Linked DNA regions of Homo sapiens: region 2 is linked to region 1. Evidence: promoter capture Hi-C in human tissues and cell types (Jung and others, 2019). All regions are on one chromosome and are shown on one strand. Each heading gives the region's core, a stretch centred on a gene start or on the middle of the fragment in contact. The rest is flanking DNA. Distances are from core to core; before and after follow the strand shown. Region 1 holds the start of TMEM132D (transmembrane protein 132D). Region 2 has its middle 52 kb from the start of TMEM132C.

What was found. The method cuts DNA at HindIII sites, captures the fragments that hold promoters and counts their contacts. A contact is called where the count stands out against the background at its distance.
Region 2: a contact is called between a fragment that was not itself captured here and the fragment with the promoter of TMEM132D in region 1, in 1 of the 25 tissues and cell types used here (lymphoblastoid cells).

The regions. Positions count from the first base shown.
Region 1 is chr12:129,901,773-129,905,665 of GRCh38, reverse strand. TMEM132D (transmembrane protein 132D) reads left to right here and starts at 1,641. Exons shown (of 9, transcript NM_133448.3): 1 at 1,641-2,405. The coding sequence starts at 2,327. The HindIII fragment of the contact is 10,076 bases long and covers 1-3,893 here.
Region 2 is chr12:128,213,086-128,216,978 of GRCh38, reverse strand. No RefSeq gene overlaps it. Among named protein-coding and RNA genes, the nearest start is that of TMEM132C, 52 kb to the left of the region's middle. The HindIII fragment of the contact is 6,040 bases long and covers 1-3,893 here.

The DNA.
Region 1 (3,893 bases), core at 392-2,891:
TAGATGATTTACAAATAGACTCAGACCCACTGTAGCGTTAAGGATGGAACCTGGATTATGCATTCAGTGCGGGCATCAATTTTGACACTCAGAGACCAGGTGAAGGTGTCCAAGAGACGAAAGCTCAGCTCTCTCATCACTCAGGTGAAGGAGAAAGGGGACCAGTGGTTCCAGCACGTGTTCCGCAGGCCGGCAGCATCAGCATCACCTGGAACTTTTTAGGAACGGAGATCGGAAGTCCCACCTTGACCTGCCGAGATAGCTCTGGGGTGGGCCCAGCAACCCAGGTCTAACAAATTTTCCAGTGACTCTCCTGCTGGTTCAAACTTCAGAAACAGTGAAAGAGACAATCTCTTAGGGTCTTTGCAGCGTCGACTCTTAGGAATTTTACAGGAGAGCAATACAAAGAGAAAAGGCAACAAGTTTAAGAAACAAACAAAAGAAAAAACAGAAAGACAGATATATTCAGATAAGTAGATACAGAATAAAAGACAAGAGCACATCTCAAAGGACATGAACCCAGAAAAACAATCTTCGGTAGAACAGCAGTGGCTTTTTTGATCTTCCTTGAAACTTTGAAAGCTAAAAACTCTTAAAGCATTGGTATATTTCTGCAACTACAGGCATACAGGATAAAAAAGTCCATTGCCCCCTCAGTCAGATGATAACGACCCATTTTTATCTACTGAGGTGAATTCACCTCATTAGATTCAGGGCTTGTTGGTTTACAATATTCCTTAAAAATTCTGAATGCTTTTCTTCCCTCTGAGCTTTGATGGGGTTAATTTAAAGGCTCTCGTGGAGCAAAGCAGTTCTTGGGCTACAAATTACAGGACGGTGCTTAGGGATCTTGGTGTGGGAATGTCTTAGTTGGAGATTCCGGGCGGTGTTGAGAATCATGTCTTTTATCTTCTCAAAGCAATGTTGTCTCCTAATGGATCCATTTCCTTTCCCAGTGAGCCCTGGGGAGCACACGACATGTTTCTAGGGACACTAACTTGGGGGATCGCTCTGGGAAGGGGCTTGGGGCCAGCATGACCTCAGTGTGGCGTGTCAGAGACTTCCTCACTGCGATCCCTGGGAGATGCGCAGGGCGGGGCGAGGGCCCTTCTCCAGCCATCCTTGCGCTCTCCCTGGCGAAGAGCCTCAGGTGCCCCCGGGCTGGAGGACCTCCCCTGGGCCTGAGGTTTTGATGACGACGAGAGGCCGGTGGCCAGCTGGACACCTGTTGGGAGAGTGGGTGGCTCCGTCCCCGGGGTGCGCCCGCGCTGGGAGCCCTCGCCCGCCGCCACCGCGCGTCCGCGCTCGCAGGGAGGGTGGCCGGGAGGCTGGGCGTGGGGCGGCCAGGGGGAGGTGGGATTTACTTTGCGGATTGGGGCTCACAGCTGTCACTCCGAAAGGGTGGGGCTTTTTAAAAGCAGACAAATTTTTAAGGCGAAAGCCCCAGCCGGCTCCGGGCACCGTGGCGATCGCCTCCGTTCCGTTCCGGATGCGGTCCTTGCGGAGCGGAGCCCCCGCGCCTGCTGGCAGGAGGCAGCTGCGTTGCTCGGCCGCGTCCCCGAGCCGGCGGGCCCTCCTCCGCGCACATCTGGCCCGCCTCCCCCGGGCGCAGGGGGGAGCCCCGCGTCTCCGGAGCCTGCAGTGCGCTCGGCGCGCGTAGAGCCCCGCGAGCCCCAGCCGGGCCCGGGGCCGGGCGGGCCGAGGCGGCGGCCGGGGAGCAGCCGCACCCGCCAAACTTTGGGTGCCGGAGCGCGCGCGCGCCCGAGCCCCGAGGCGCAGCGGCCGGCCTGGGATGGGGGCTGCGGGCCAGGGAGCCCCGGGCCGCCCAGCGAGCCCGGCCACCCGCCCGGGGGGCTCCGAGCCGCCTCTGCCCGCGTCCCGGGCTCCGCAGCCCCGCCACCCCGGCGCCGCCTGCGCCAGCGCCCGCTAGCCAGCCCGGGAGCAGCTGGAGCCGCCGGAGCCCTGCGCCTGGAGGCGCCCCTCCTTGGGCCACCGGGGGCCACTCTTCGCTCGGGTAAACAGGAAAGGAAATACCCCCTGTGGATTAAAATTTAAAAAAAATTCTGTTGGGGTCGAAGGAGGGAGGTGGGGTTTGCCTGCGCGCGTGTTGGACTCCGGAGAGCAACTCAGGAGCCCGCGCGGTCGTCGCCTCCCGGCCTGGCCATGGACTGGCGGGAAGAGGGAGCAGGGCGCCCGGGCTGCTCGGGCCCCTAGCCGGGCGCTCCCTCGCCACCGGCCCCGCTGCGGGCCTCTAGGGGACTGAGACGGTCTCTTGTTCGCCTGGACGGCGCCGGGGAGCGGAGGATCTGCGCTCCGGGTCTCCAGGATGTGCCCGTCTGAGATGGGGACGCTGTGGCACCACTGGTCGCCGGTACTCATCAGCCTGGCCGCCCTGTTTTCCAAAGGTGAGGACGCCGCGGCCGCCAGGGCCCGGGGACTAACTTCGCCTGGAGTGAGTGTGTGGGAGTGTGTGGAGGATGGGGGCGGCCGGGAGAGAGGGCTCGTGTGCAAGTGTGTGTGCGCGCTTGTGTGCATGTGTGTGTGCGCGCGTGTGAACGTGCGCTCGTGCGGCAGCCAAGCTCCTCGGACGCCCCTTGGCCGAAGGTGCTTGTCCTGGAGCACTTGGGTGGGAGGCCTTAGGTGAGACTACTAAGGAGCCGAAAGGAAAGGAAGGCTGTTTCCTGAAAGCCTTTTCTGTAAAGGGAGAGGGCGTGGGGACCCTTGAGAGGAAAGGTGGCCTCTGGAGGGCCGAGCCGGCTGTCGGGGGAGGAGGGGATTGAGATGACCAGGGAGATTTCTGGAATTTGGGATTGACTTTCCCTGGTGGCACTGACCTATTTGGAAATAATTTTGGAGCACTCCTGTTGTATGGGAATACTATTTTGTGTATTATAGGCTGCCAAAAATATAGCCTGGGGGGCGGCTCTGAAGAAGGGGGATGGGTTTCTCCAGGTCTGCCGCTGTGAGGTTTGGGCACAGGGTCTGGCGCTCACCCTTCCGTAGGGTGCTGGGAGCAGCAGCGGCCCCGCAGGGTGCACGTGGAGTTTCAGCTACAAGTTGTGACCCGAATTTTCCCAGCGGAGCCCTGACTTGAAGCCATGTGTCAAGGCAGGAATTCCTCAATGTTTCCTCTTCTCTTCTGCCAGCATCCCTGTCTGTCATGGGAAGAGCAAGTTTGGAAGCTCTGGACAGTCATTCTTCCTTGAAGAGAAATGGTGTGATTTGTGCGGGAGATTCTTTCTCATGATTGACCTGGGCTGCTTGTGTGTGGTTCCCCCACCCGTGCCCCTTTCCTGCAGATAGATACACTGGGAGGAGAGTGAAGCGTCTCAGCAGTCTCTAATACGTGCTGCAAGAACCCTGTACCCATATTTTTCTGCAAAGATTTTTGAGATGAGATCTCTCTCAGAAACTTCAAAGCCAATTATCACGCACAAAGTCTTTTAATTACATGAATTGTCTGTTCTCTGAGTTCTTCCAGAATCACTGAGGTTATGTTGCTTTGGATCTGATAATAGATGAAGACAGTTGAAATGCCGAGTTCTGTGATGGTTCGATTTAGAAAGAGGAATTTACGTTCCCCCTCCTTCCCTGTCTTTGAAGTGTGGTTGAAATGGGCTCACGTTTCCTAATTATGAGTTAGAACAATCCCTGGGATCAGAGCCTTCTGGATTTATAATGTGCACAGGAAACCAAAGAAAAGGTTGATGAATTCAGTGAACCTGACTCAGGCAGACGTGAGGTTAAAAAAACCAAAATCCACAGCAACAACAGCCCAGCATTTTTTTTTTGGGGCGGGGGGGGTTGGTTCTCACTTGGTTTTATAATAGGTCCAGACTTCTTTGTGTTTATGCTGCAATAACAAGGTTGTATTAAGAAAGGTACAGAATAGC
Region 2 (3,893 bases), core at 351-2,850, 1.7 Mb after region 1:
GACCTCATGATCCACCCACCTTGCCCTCCCAAAGTGCTGGGATTACAGGCATGAGCCACTGGGCCCAGCCGTAATTATCTTTTCTTTCCATGAAATTTTCAGCAAAATCAAAAGTGTTTGATAATGTTTTATGGAATATATTTTAGGGAAGGAATGAAATTAATATTGCTTAAAACCGTTGAGCACTTACTTAGTATGTACCATTGTATTCGTCTGTTTTTGCATTTGCTATAGATACCTGAGACTGGGTAATTTATAAAGAAAAGAAGGTTAATTGGCTCATATTTTTGCAGGCTGTACAAGAAGCATGGTACTGACACCTGCTCGGCTTCTGAGGAGGCCTCAGGAAGCTTCCAATCATGGCAGAAGGCGAAGTGGGAGCAGGCACATCACATGGGGAAGGCAGGAGCAAGAGCGTGAGTGGGGAGGTACCTCACACTTTTAAACGGCCAGATCTTGTGAGAACTCACTCACTATTGCAAGGAAAATACCAAGGGGGCTGGTGCTGAACCATTCATGAGAACTCTGCCTCCATGATCCAATCACCTCCCACCAGGCCCCACCTCAACACTGGGGATTACATTTTAACATGAGATTTGGGTGGGAACACACATGCAAACCTTATCAACCAGGAACTCTTCTTAGGACCTTGCTTGCGTTAAAATGTCAAAGCATTGTAACGAACCTGTGAGTTATTATCACTATGCCCATTTCACAGAGGGGAACCTGAAGTTCAAGTGTGTTAGGCAACTGTCTCAAGGTCCCCACAGACGGTGAGTGTTGGATCTGGTGTATTGGTTTCCTGTTGTTGCATAAACTTAGTGGCTTAAAAAACCATACATTTATTCTTTTTCAGTTCTGGAGGTCAGAGGTTTAAAGTCAAGGGGTGGACAAGGCTGCATACCTTCTGGAGGCTCTGGCAGAGAATCTGTTTCCTTTCTGTTTCCAGCCTCTGGAGGCAGCTGACACTCCCTGGATCATGGCTCCTTCCTCCATCTTCAAAGCACATCCCTCCCACCTCTGCTTCTATCATCCTGTCTCCTTCTCTGACTCTCTTGCCCTTGTGAGGAACTTGGGCCCACCCAGATAATCCAGGATAATCTCCCATGTAAAGAGTGTTAGCTTAACCATGTCTGCAAAGTCCCCTTTCCTATGCAAGGTCACATAATCACAGGTTCCGGGGGTTAGGATGTGGGCATCGTTGAGGGCCATTATTCAGCCTAACAGAGCTGAGATTTGGACAAGCTGGTTTTAGTCCCAGAGACCTCACTCCTAGCCACCACACCATCTTCCTCCCAGTCCAGGTAAACTGATGAATCATGCTTGATGGTTGAGAGAGGCTTGGCCAGCCTTACTGTGAGAAGGCAGACAAATCTAGACCATATTTGTACGGTAAAAGACAGAATATGTAGTTTGTTAACTGGCCAGGTAGAATTTCTTCTGCATTGTCTCAAGACCAGGTGGTCGTTAGAGCTTAGCATTTGGAGCATAAGGGGGGTTTCCTAGCAGCCAGCCTTTATATTGGAAGACAGTGCGGAGGATTAGTAAAAATCCTTCCAGCTGCAAATAACAGAAAAACCAACCCCAAATACCTAAATGTCAAGGAAAATTTAGCATCTAACAAATCAAAATGTTCTAAGTGGTGGAAGCTCCAGAAGAGGTTAATGTGTAGCAGCTCCAAATAAAGTCTCCACAACTTTCTGCTTCCCTGGGTCCTCAGGCTGGCTCCCCTCACTTTGGCAGATGGGGCTGAAGTTCCAGGGCTGCTGTCAGGATCCAGCCATGTTCTGTGTTTCTCCTTTTCCAGCCTTTAGAGGTGGCTGACATTCCCTGGCTCATGGCTCCTTCCTCCATCTTCAAAGCACATCCCTCCCACCTCTGCTTCCGTTGTCCCATCTCCTTCTCGGACTCTACCTCTTCCAGGGAACGCCCAGCACATTTTCTCTCACATCTCGTTGGTCAGATGCAGGTCACATGCCTACCCCTAAACCAAACACTGGTGGGGCAAGGGACACCATGATTGGCTTAGAGTATTCTGGATTAACCCCTGATCTAGACATAGATGAGGTCACCTACTCTGAGGGGAGGGATGGATTTTGGGTTTGGAGCCAACACCTTTTGCCACAGGTTGGAACGACATGTTTGGAACAGGGAATGGAAACATGTTGGAGTTCACTCTCAGACCAGCAGCGTTTCCCAAACACACATTGTGGAGCTCAGATTCACTCACCAGAAGGCACCTGTTCACTGGGGGAATTCAAATGGTCCCTGTGAGTGCTTGAAAGTCGGATCGTTCCGTTCTTCAAGACCAGATACACCTTGGATGAACACACCTAGACACAAACCCATTTACTCTGCACCACATCTTCAGAAGCAACTTAAAAAAGAGTTTCAACAGGAGTATTTGAATGTATCTTTTGATAGATGTGCAGAAACAGGGGTAATTGCTTCTGAAATGGAAAGTTTTGCAAACAACTATATCACTATTAACAGTGAAGAGCATTACCATTTTTTTATTTCGACTTTTTGATAGGGTGAAATGTCCTTTGGAATGTACAGTGGAAGATCAGCAGCAGCATCTCTGCTGCTTGAACAATATGTTGCATATTGCTTCATATTTTTGCATGTTACATTGTTGCATGTTGTTTCATAGTGTTGCACGTTGTTTCATAGTGCTGCATATTGTTTTCATATTGCTGCATGTTGTTTCATATCGTTGCATGCTATATTGTTTTGTTTCATATTGTTGCATGTTATACTGTTGCATACTGTTTTATATTGTTGCATGTTATTTCATATTGTCACATGTTATATTGTTGCACATTGTTTCATATTGTTTCATATTGTTGCATGTTGTTTCATATTGTTGCATATTGTGTCATATTGTTGCATGTTCTATTGTTTTGTTTCATATTGTTGCATGTTGTTTCATAGTGTTACATGTTGTTTCGTATTATTGCATATTGTTTTCATATTGTCTTATATTGTTGCATGTTGTTTTATATTGTTTCATACTGTTGCATGTTATACTGTTGCATACTGTTTTATATTGTTGCATGTTATTTCATATTGTCACATGTTATATTGTTGCACATTGTTTTATACTGTTGCATGTTGTTTCATATTGTTGCATATTGTTTCTTCAGCAGAACAGCTTGAGGTTTTGAGAAAACAGACTTTTAACTCAAGATACTTTGACAAACAAATGCCTGACCAGAAAGTTGTTTAATTTTTTTCTATCCAAATCTCTTAAAAGGGGAAGGATTTATAACAGAATCACTACAAAATTGGCTGTGTGTGTCCCTAGGACATTGCGGTCCTTTGGCTAAGATCAATGAGAAGAGACACTTCTCACGATGAAATAGGCAGGAGAGGTGGTGGGGAGTCTAGTTTAAAATCTTAAAATATTTCTCACGAGTGTGAGGTTCAGAGTCTATGTGACTCTCACCCTCCTCAATTTTATTTTGTTTTCAGGAAACTTCTATCAACTCAGAAACCCTTCTAGGCACTGGATATGCCTTCCCCATATTCCATTTGGTCCCTCCTACCAAAACAATCAACACCCAGTAATGATGCAGCTGTGCTGATCCTTAGGTCTTGGGTATCCTAACAGCCTGGTGTGAGCTGATCTGCAATATGATTAAGCACTTTTCAACTGGCCCCAAGTTTTAGAAGATCCTCAGCCTTGTACTTGGAGGATTAATACATTCAGTGCTGGCTAGTCACATTTTGAATAAGATTTTTCTCTCTCTTTAAATGTCACCTCTTCTAATGCATAACCTTATAGTTGTTTATAGGTCATGAGCTATGAAAGTCTAGCCCAAAGCTTACTCATTACACTTGAGTTGAGTGGAATTAAAAGGCTGGACTAGATAAGCATGAGACATTTAATT